Regions from separate parts of the Homo sapiens genome. Here region 1 is linked to region 2. Evidence: promoter capture Hi-C in 16 types of primary human blood cells and fetal thymus (Javierre and others, 2016). All regions are on one chromosome and are shown on one strand. The core of a region is centred on a gene start or on the middle of the fragment in contact, and the rest is flanking DNA. Distances in the headings are between cores, read along the strand shown.

Region 1 (5,228 bases), core at 1,244-3,743, 280 kb after region 2:
AGAATGTACTTTAAGAGTGACCACATGCTAGGCCATAAGGCAAGTCTCAATAAATTCAAACAAATAGCAATCATACCAACCATACTCTTGGACCATAGGGGAATAAAAATTGAAATTAATGCCAGGAGGATCTCTCAAAAACACATAATTACATGGAAACTAAAAAACTTGCTTGTGAATGACTTTTGGATGGACAACGAAATTAAGGGTGAAATAAAACAATTCTTTAAAATAAAGGAAAACAGAGATGCAACATACCAAAATCGCTGGGGTGCAGTGTAAGCAATGTTAAGAGGAAAGTTTATGATGTTAAACTCCTACAACAAGGATTTAAAAAGATCCCAAATTATCAATTTATCATCACACTAAGAGGAACTAGAAAAACAAGAACAAACTAACCTAAAGCTAGCAGAAAAAAATAACCAAAATCAGAGAAGAACTGAACAAAATTGATATTCAAAAATCCATTAAAAGGATCAATAAATCCAAAAGCTGATTACTTGAGAGAATAAACGAGATCAATAAACCACTAGCTTGATTGGCAAAGAGAGAAGATCCAAATAATCACGCTCAAAAATGGCAAAGATGACATTACAATCAATCCCACAAAAATACAAAAGATCCTCAGAGACTTTTATGAACACCTCTATGCACACAAACTGGAAAATCTAGAGGGAATGGATAAACAACTGGAAGCACACCACCTCCCAAGATTGAATCACAAGGAAGTTGAAACCCTGACCAGACCAATATCAAGTTCTGAAATTGAATTGCTCATGAAAAGCCAGCAACCACCACCATCACCACCACCACCAACAAAAGCCCTAGACCAGATAGAATCACAGCAGAATTCTAATAGACATACAAAGAGAAGCTGGTACCAATGCTACTGAAAATATTCCAAAAAATTGAGGAGGAGGGACTTTATTCCGACTCATTCTATTAAGCAAGCAACATACTCATACCAAAGCCTGGCAAATACACAACAAAATAAGAAAACTGCAGACCAATATCCCTGATGAACACAAATGTAATAATCCTCAAGAAAATACCAGCAAAGCAAATTCAGCAGCATATCAAAAATTTAATTCACCATGATCACATAGGTTTTATTCCTGGAATGCAAGTTTAGTTCAACATATGTAAATTAATAAATGTTATTTACCACATAAGCAGGATTAAAGACAAAAACCATATGACAATCTCAATTGATGCAGAAAAAGCATACAAAATTATACCATGTCCCTTCATGATAAAAACCCTCTACAAGCTAGGCATCAAACGAACATACCTTAAAATAGTAAGAGCCATCTATGACAATCCCATGGCCAACATCATACTGAATGGGCAAAAGCTGAAAGCATACTCCCTGAAAATCAGAACAAGACAAAGATACCCTCTCTCACCACTTGTATTCAATACAGTACTGGAAGTCCTGGTCATACTAATTAGGCAAGAGAAAGAAATAAAAGGCATCCAAAAAAAAAAAAAAAGAGAGAGTAAGTCAAACATCCTGCAGAGGATATGATTCTATATCTAGGATATAAACTCTATAGCTTCTGCCTAAAGACTCTGGAACTGATTAAAAATGTCAATAAAGTTTCAGGCTACAAAACAATTTACATTTCTCAGAGGATATACCCAATGATAGAACTGCTGGGTTGAATGGTAGTTGTAGTTTCCTTAAGAAATCTCAGGCCGGGCGCAGTGGCTCACGCCTGTAATTCCAGCACTTTGGGAGGCCGAGACGGGTGGATCACCTGAGGTCGGGAGTTCGAGACCAGCCTAACCAACATGGAGAAACCCCATCTCTACTAAAAATACAAAATTAGCTGGGCTTGGTGGCACATGTCTGTAATCCCAGCTACTTGGGAGGCTGAGGCAGGAGAATCACTTGATCCTGGGAGGCGGAGGTTTTGGTGAGACAAGATCATGCCATTGCACTCCAGCCTGGCCAACAAGAGTGAAACTCCGTCTCTAAAAAAAAAAAAAAAAAGGAAACCTCTACACTGGTTTCCACAATGGCTGAACTAATTGACATTCCCCCCAGCAGTGTATAAGCATTCCCTTTTCTTCTCAATCTTGCTGGCATTCATTATTTTTTAAACTTTTTAATAATAGCCATTTCAACTGGTGTGAGATGGTATCTCATTGTGGTTTTGATTTGGCTTTCTCTGATGTTTAGAGATATTGAGCATTTTTTCATATGCTTGTTGGCCATATGTATGTCTTCTTTTGAAAAGTGTCTGTTTATGTCCTTTTTGACCTTTTAGTGAGGTTGTTTTTTGCTCCTTTAATTGTTTAAGTTTGTTGTAGATTTTGGATATTAGACCTTTGTCAGATGCATAATTTGAAAATCTTTTCTACCATTCTGTAGGTTGCTTATTTACTCTGTTGATAATTTCTGTTGCTGTGCAAAAGTTCTTTAGTTTAATCAGTACCCACTTTTCAATTTTTGTGTTTGTTGCAATTAATTTGGGAGACATAGTCATAAATTCTTTGCCACGGCTAATGTCCAGAATGGTATTTCCTAGGTTTTCTCCTAGGATTTTTATAGTTTGAGGTCTCACATGTAAGTCCTTAACCCATCTTGAGTTAATATGTGTTTATTGTAATAAATCGAGGTCCAGTTTTTTTCTTCTTCATATGGCTATCCATTTGTCCCAGCACCATTTATTGAATAGGGAGTTCTTTCCCTATTGTTTATTTTTGTCAACTTTGTCAAAAAAGAGATGGTTGTAGATATGTGGCTTTATTTCTGGGTTATCTGTTATGTTCTGTGAGGCTGTGTTTTTGTATCAGAATCGTGCTGTTTTGGTTACTGTAGCCTTGTTGCATAAATTGAAGTCTGGTAATGTGAGGCTTCTGGCTTTGTTATTTTTGTTTAGGATTGTTTTGTCTACTCAGGTTTTTTTTTAGTTTCATATGAATATTAGAGTAGTTTTTTAAAAAAAACCGTTTATTTTAAGTTCTGGAGCACATGTGCAGGTGTAGGCTTGTAATATAAGTAAACTTGTGTCACGGTGATTTGTTGTACAGATTATTTTTTCACCCAGGTATTAAGCATAGTACCCATTAGTTATTTTTCCTGATCCTCTCCCTCTTCCCCTTCTGCACCCTTCAATAGGACCCAGTGTGTGTTGGTCCCCTCTGTGTGTCCATGTGTTCTCATCATTTAGCTCCCACTTGTAAGTGAGAACATGTGGGATTTGGTTTTCTGTTCCTGAATTAGTTTGCTAAAGGTGATGGCCTCCAGCTCCATCAATGTTTCTGCAAAGAATACGATCTCATTTTTTTATAGCTGCATAGAATTCCACAGTGTATATGTACCACATTTTCTTTATCCAGTTTACCACTGATGGACATTTAGGTTAATTTCATGTGTTTGCTATTGTGAATAATGCTGCAATGAACATATGCATGCATGTGTCTTTATAATAGAATGATTTGTATTCCTTTGGGTATATATCCAGTAATGGGATTGCTGGGTCAAATGGTATTTCTGTTTTTAGGTCTTTGAGGAAATCACTACACTGTCTTTGGTTACATTGGTTTTGCATCAAAAACTATCAATTTGGAGTTCTTTAGCCAGGAGAAATATCTTCAAAAATTGAGATGAAATAAACTCTTGTTCAGACTGTCCAAAGCTGGGAAAATGTATCACTAGCATACTTTTACCACCAGTAAATACTATATATAGCTTCAGGTATATAAAAAGTTATCAGATGAAAATTTGCATCTACACAAAAATATGATGAGAAAATAACATGCTAGATAGAAGTGTAAATATAAAATTCATTTTCTTTCATTTAAAAAACCTTTGAAAGATAATTGATGGCTTAAAGCAAAAATAATAATAAAGAATTGTATGTTTAGAATAGTTGAAGTAAAATATGTAGCAATAATAGTATAAATAATAGGTAATAAGGATTTTCATTATATATTAAATTATATAATATATGAATGGTGACAGTTATATATTATACATCATATCTAGATCTATGTTAGCTAATGAAGTAATCTTTAGCTATATGTATTTACTTTCAAATTAATTATGATTCAATAAATGTAAAAGTTCAGTACCCTGTTTATATTACCTACATTTTAATGTTTAATTAATAGTCACATGTTGTTGACATTGTATTGGATTGAACAGACATGGAATATTTCCATTATCCCAGAAAGTTGCCCTAAACAAACATTAGTAAGCCAAAAGTGAGGTAAGTGGAAACATTAAAAGAATACTTAATTAATGCTTTTAAGAAGGCGGTAAAAAGAAAAAAATAGTTTAAGAGAAGATGTTGTCAGATTGGATTAAAAACTAAGACCAACTTATACATAACCTATAAGGATGGTATAAGTCTAGAAGAATCTTAGGAGAAAATTTTTGTGACCTTAGACAAAGATCTTTTAATCACAGATGTTAAAAGACGAATTCAATACATTATACTTTAAGAAAATTAAAAACATTTGCTCTTCAAAAGGCCTTTTAAGGAAACAGATAAAGACTACTAAGTCAAAAAAATTAGCAAAACATATAACTGACAAATACTTTCATTGTAATGCAAGAATAATTCAAATACTTAAAAAGAAATAAATCCAATTTAAAAATGGGCAAAATATTTGATTAGATCTCAACAAAGAAGTTTTACAAATTGAAAATAAATAAAAAGATGTTAAACCTCAATAGTCCTTAGGGAAATGCAAGTTAAAATCAACAAGATACCACTATATGCCCTCTAAAATTATCACATCAAAAGACTGACATTATTAATAATTTGTGAAGTTATAGATCAATGGAAATTCTCACAGATTGTTTGTTGGAATGTAAAATCATTCAGCCACTTAGGAAAGTTTTCCAATTTTGCAAAACTTAAGCATAAAATTTCATATTTTCCACTTATAATCTCCCCAACCCAACCCTCATCTCCTAAAGAGAAACAAAAGTCTGTGTTCACAAGAAAACTTGAACATTCATAGCAGCTTTATTACTAATAGTCCAATGTTGGGAAAAAGGCTTATGGGGTGGCTGTATAAACTGGCCATAAAAATATGGGACAATAAGTTGCGGAAAGCCACAGGAGGCCTCTGAGGAGGAAAGCCTCCTTATTGCCGTCACATTCCCTTGACCAGAGCGTGACCTGCTCTCTTATCTATAAACACTGTGCTCAAGGAGAGACACTCCTTTGAAGCATTGGAGTGTGGCCAGATATGCCGGCTCCTAGTTA
Region 2 (4,862 bases), core at 1,232-3,731:
GCCTCCCGGGTTCAAGTAGCTGAGACTACAGGTGTGCACCACCACAACTGGCTAATTTTTGTATTATTACTACAGATGGGGTTGCACCATGTTGGCCAGGTTGGTCTCGAACTCCTGACCTTGTGATCCGCCCACGTTGGCCTCCCAAAGTGCTGAGATTACAGGTGTGAGCCACCGCACCCGGCCACGGTTTTTTTTTTTTTCTATGTTGCAATAGAGGAGATGGGTCTGGTTGGGACTTACTACCCTTCCCATGCAGTAGCTGTTCTCATACCTCAGGCCCGCATCATGAGAGAGGATTTATCTGGTCTACATCTCTGACCCTAATGTTTCAGAAGACCCTGGTGAGGTTCATAGAAAAAGGCTTAGAGACTGATGCGAATTTCCCTGTTTTTGTGACTCCCAGGGCTTCTATATACTCATGCTAGCCTTTACTAATTTGTCTAAAATTTTAGCTGAATTCTTATTCTTACTGGCTTGTATAATATCTGGCATCTGTCCCAAGTAAACAAGGGTTTGCATTCCATCTGTCCTTTGAGGAGTCTGTCTTTCTTTATATTTTGGGTTAACTGGTTGCCTTGATATTTCAGTTCTTTGATAAATTCAAGTTATGATTTTGATAATCTGGCTTCAAAAAATTATAAGTATGAAAATGAAGCTCTTTCCAGCTTTTTGCATGCTAATCTTAACTTTAAAAAAATTATCTGTAATCCCAGCACTTTGGGAGGCTGAGGCAGGTGGATCATCTGAGGTCAGGAGTTTGAGACCAACATGGTGAAACCCCATCTCTATTAATAATATCAAAGTTAGCCAGGCATGGTGGTGCATACCTGTAATCCCAGTTACTTGCAAAACCGAGGCAGGACAATTGCTTTAACCTGGGAGGCAGAGGTTGCAGTGAGCTGAGATCATGCCACTGAACTCCAGCCTGGGTGACAGAGTGAGACTCTGTCTCAAAACAAAACAAAACAAAACAAAACAAAAAACAAATAAAAAAATTATTTGCAGGCCATGCCTGGTGGCTCATGCCAACAATCCCAGCACTTTGGGAGGCTGACACAGGAGGATTGCTTGAGGCCGGGAGTTGGAGGTTACAGTGAGCTATGATTATTCCACTGCACTCCAGCCTGAGTAACAGAGTGAAACCCTGTCTCAAGAAAAAAAATTTTTTCCCCCTAAATTAGCTTCAGATACTTTTTTTTTGAAAACCAAAAAATAGTAAATAGCCCAGACACATTTATATGGATGATATCTACAAAGCACAAACATATATTTAGAAGCCCTTCAACAGTTACAAGCAGCGTAAAAGAGGAATGTAAATGTGTCCGGCAAAGACTCATTTATAACAAAACAACCCTGAAACATCCAAATAGGACTAATAAAAAGGGATCCTGGGATAAAGACTTTGGAATACTCCATTAACTTCACTGCTCACAAGTTCTGACTAGTTTCTTATAAGTAATAGGACATTTATAGCAGGATCTTTTATGTAAATCTCATGCCAGTAACTTGTACTTTTATCCTAAATAAAACTGTATGAGATTCTCATCTCACTACATAGGGTTACAAGTAACTTTTATGATATCTTTAAAAAGTTTCATGTTGAATATCACCTCCATAATTAAAAAATGGATGCATAGACTGAATTCATTCATTCATTTGACAAATATTCACTAAGCACCTACCACTTGTGAGATACTCTGTTAGGTGGGGATACAGTATGATAACTGTATGGAACTAACACTCCAAGTCAAACATTGAAGTCAAAATTCTGGGCTGGCGTACATTAGTTAGGAGCCCCCATTTTAGAAAATATTATTTCAAGCAGGCCTTGTTTTTATCCAGAGAGTGTATACAGTATAATAAAACTCAGTACACCAAGATTTATATTTCATGGCGTGTTTTTCTCCCTAAGTAGAGAAAAAGCTCCTTCAGTAAAGTGATTGTGTTGTCAACCACTGCATATTCTTAAGTGTACCAAGATGCTTGACTCCAGGCAGGTGCTAAGAGAGACTGTTGGGTGAGTGAATGTATATCAATGAAAATCAAACAGAGGAAATTTTCTTTATATGTTTTAGTGTTCCTGTGGTTTTTTTTTTTTTTTTTTTTTTTTTTTTTTTTTTTTTTTTTGTGATGGTTACTGGCTCTTCTCTAAGAATAATGGAGAAAAGGTGTTAGTTTGTACTGTCGCACAGGGCAGTCGTAGGAGACTCTGAAAAAGCAAATAAATCAATGTTAAATCAGAAATGTGAATGTAGTAAGGGGCTGAAGAGACAGGGGAAGAGAATACATGGGAAAATATTGAAAAGGACAGAGTGATCAAAAAGAGCAGGGACATGGGAGCATTGGGCAGCACACTGGGAGCCATTTCACTTTATGCTCTTATTGTATGATTGAGAAAAAAATGTCCTTAGTGGTTAAGTGGCTTTTCAATGCCACATCAGACTTGTTCCATAGCAGTTGAATTAGGGGAAGGTGAATAAGTTGGAGGTTGGTGACAAGGAGAGAAGCTGGAACAGAGAGGAGAGTCAGAACCAGAGGGAAATGAGAGACTGAGTAGGCATCTCAGGGTTTTTGAAGGAGTGGATTTTCTTTGTTGCAGTCAGGGGAGGTTTGTCTGTTGGCTGCAGAAAGAAGTCAGAATAGAGATATCGTGGGGTAGGTTTGTTTGGAACAGAAATCAAAGACCAATTTTTCTGAGAGAAGGAAATAACATCTGCAAATGATATGCTGTTTTTGCTACTTCCATTGTTAGCTGTTCTCCCAGGTGATGGCAATGCAGACGGTAAGAACTCTGACAACTGCCCAGTTGGGTGGTGGGTGAAGGTCTCTCTCTCTCTCTCTGTGTGTGTGTGTGTGTGTGTGTGTGTGTGTGTGTGTGTGTGTGTGTGGTTTCCCTAGCATATACCTGGAAAGTGAGAGTGCCAGGCTGGTTCCATTCTGACTATCCATGACTCCAGGTCCCTGAGCTCTTATGAAGGTGGTTGATAAGGCATGGGACTGTGTGGCAAGTGAATGTCTGCTAAGATCATGATGGATCCCCTTTTCTCCAGATTCTGAGTTCCCGCACTCTGGCACCTTTCTCTCTCCATCCTCTTTCTCAATGTCTTTCTCCCCATTCTATCTGTTCTTTTGTCGCAGGGCTCAAGGAGCCTCTCTCCTTCCATGTCACCTGGATCGCATCCTTTTACAACCATTCCTGGAAACAAAATCTGGTCTCAGGTTGGCTGAGTGATTTGCAGACTCATACCTGGGACAGCAATTCCAGCACCATCGTTTTCCTGTGCCCCTGGTCCAGGGGAAACTTCAGCAATGAGGAGTGGAAGGAACTGGAAACATTATTCCGTATACGCACCATTCGGTCATTTGAGGGAATTCGTAGATACGCCCATGAATTGCAGTTTGAATGTGAGTTCAGTTTTCTCCATGGAGAGTGGTGAGGTGGGAGAGAGGGGTTGTCTCAATGTTTCTTATTCCTTTAGGAAACAGCCTGACTCTCTTCTGTATCTTATTCTATTCTTTCCACCATAAAACTGCAATTGCATACTTTTGGGCAAGGGCTATCATCCAGACCTTAATTCTCCAAACACTTCTGCTACTTATGAACTCCTCTCTCATTGATTGCAGGGTTGTGCATTATTATCTTTTCTTACAGGTATCCCAGGACCACCCTTCTGCCTGCCCTACAACCAGATACCTTCAGCTTTCTCACTTTCTCATTCATTCTCTTCAGCAGTCTCTCTATATATACTCAATTGTAACCCATTGCATTTAATTCAACCTAAGTTGTTATAATCCCAGTTCTCTTACACCAGGTCCTTGCTCACCCACAGCATTCACATCACCTTCTTTGACCAGTTTGCCCTCTTCCTCATGTTATTAATCTTTTCCTCCACCTACAGCTCCCACCAATTCCTCTTTCTCTGAATCCCTGACCAAACCAAATTTTATTCCATTATGTCAAACCCTGCACACTTCCCCCTTCTGCTTCTATAATCTTTGCTTCTACTCATTTCATTTTATATTTTTTTCTCCCTCTTTCCTCTATTTCATAACCCCAGATCCTTTTGAGATACAGGTGACAGGAGGCTGTGAGCTGCACTCTGGAAAGGTCTCAGGAAGCTTCTTGCAGTTAGCTTATCAAGGATCAGACTTTGTGAGCTTCCAGAACAATTCATGGTTGCCATATCCAGTGGCTGGGAATATGGCCAAGCATTTCTGCAAAGTGCTCAATCAGAATCAGCATGAAAATGACATAACACACAATCTTCTCAGTGACACCTGCCCACGTTTCATCTTGGGTCTTCTTGATGCAGGAAAGGCACATCTCCAGCGGCAAGGTCAGTCCTGCACTCTCCCTCCAAGAAGTTTTGATTTGAAAATCATACCCTTCCACCACCTCCTTCCAATTTAGAATAAGGAAGAGCCACCCAGAAGTGGGAAAGGCTGGGTGCAGTGCCTCACATCTGTAATCCCAGTACTTTGGGAAGCTGAGGCTGGAGGACTTCTTAAGGGCAGGAGTCCCAGACCAGCCTGAGCAACAGAGTGAGACCAGTGTCTCTAAAAAATAAAAATAAGTTAGCCAGTCATGGTGGTACACACCTGTAGTCCCAGTTACTTAAGAGGCTGAGGCAGGAGGATCGCTTGAGCCTAACAGTTTGAGGTTACAGTGAGCTATAATTTATAATTATGCCACTGCATTGCAGCATAGTGACAGAGTGAGACCCTGTCTCAAAAAAAAAAAAAAGAGAAATGGGAACAATGTGTCTATCTAAACTTCTAAACTGTTGTGGAGATATGAAACTCCAAGTCTGTATTTGAATATCTTTTCTGTCCTTTGCAGTGAAGCCCGAGGCCTGGCT

What was found. Contacts are between HindIII fragments. The CHiCAGO score rates a contact against its expected background, and 5 or more counts as called.
Region 1: a contact is called between a fragment that was not itself captured here and the fragment with the promoter of CD1A in region 2, in 1 of 17 cell types (fetal thymus). The highest score is 5.4, in fetal thymus.

Annotation. Positions count from the first base shown.
Region 1 is chr1:158,529,564-158,534,791 of GRCh38, forward strand. No RefSeq gene overlaps it. Among named protein-coding and RNA genes, the nearest start is that of OR6Y1, 22 kb to the right of the region's middle. The HindIII fragment of the contact is 7,233 bases long and covers 1-5,228 here.
Region 2 is chr1:158,251,943-158,256,804 of GRCh38, forward strand. It overlaps CD1A (CD1a molecule), which reads left to right and starts at 2,482. Exons shown (of 6, transcript NM_001763.3): 1 at 2,482-2,785; 2 at 3,142-3,408; 3 at 4,062-4,340; 4 at 4,844-4,862. The coding sequence starts at 2,728. The HindIII fragment of the contact is 5,152 bases long and covers 1-4,120 here.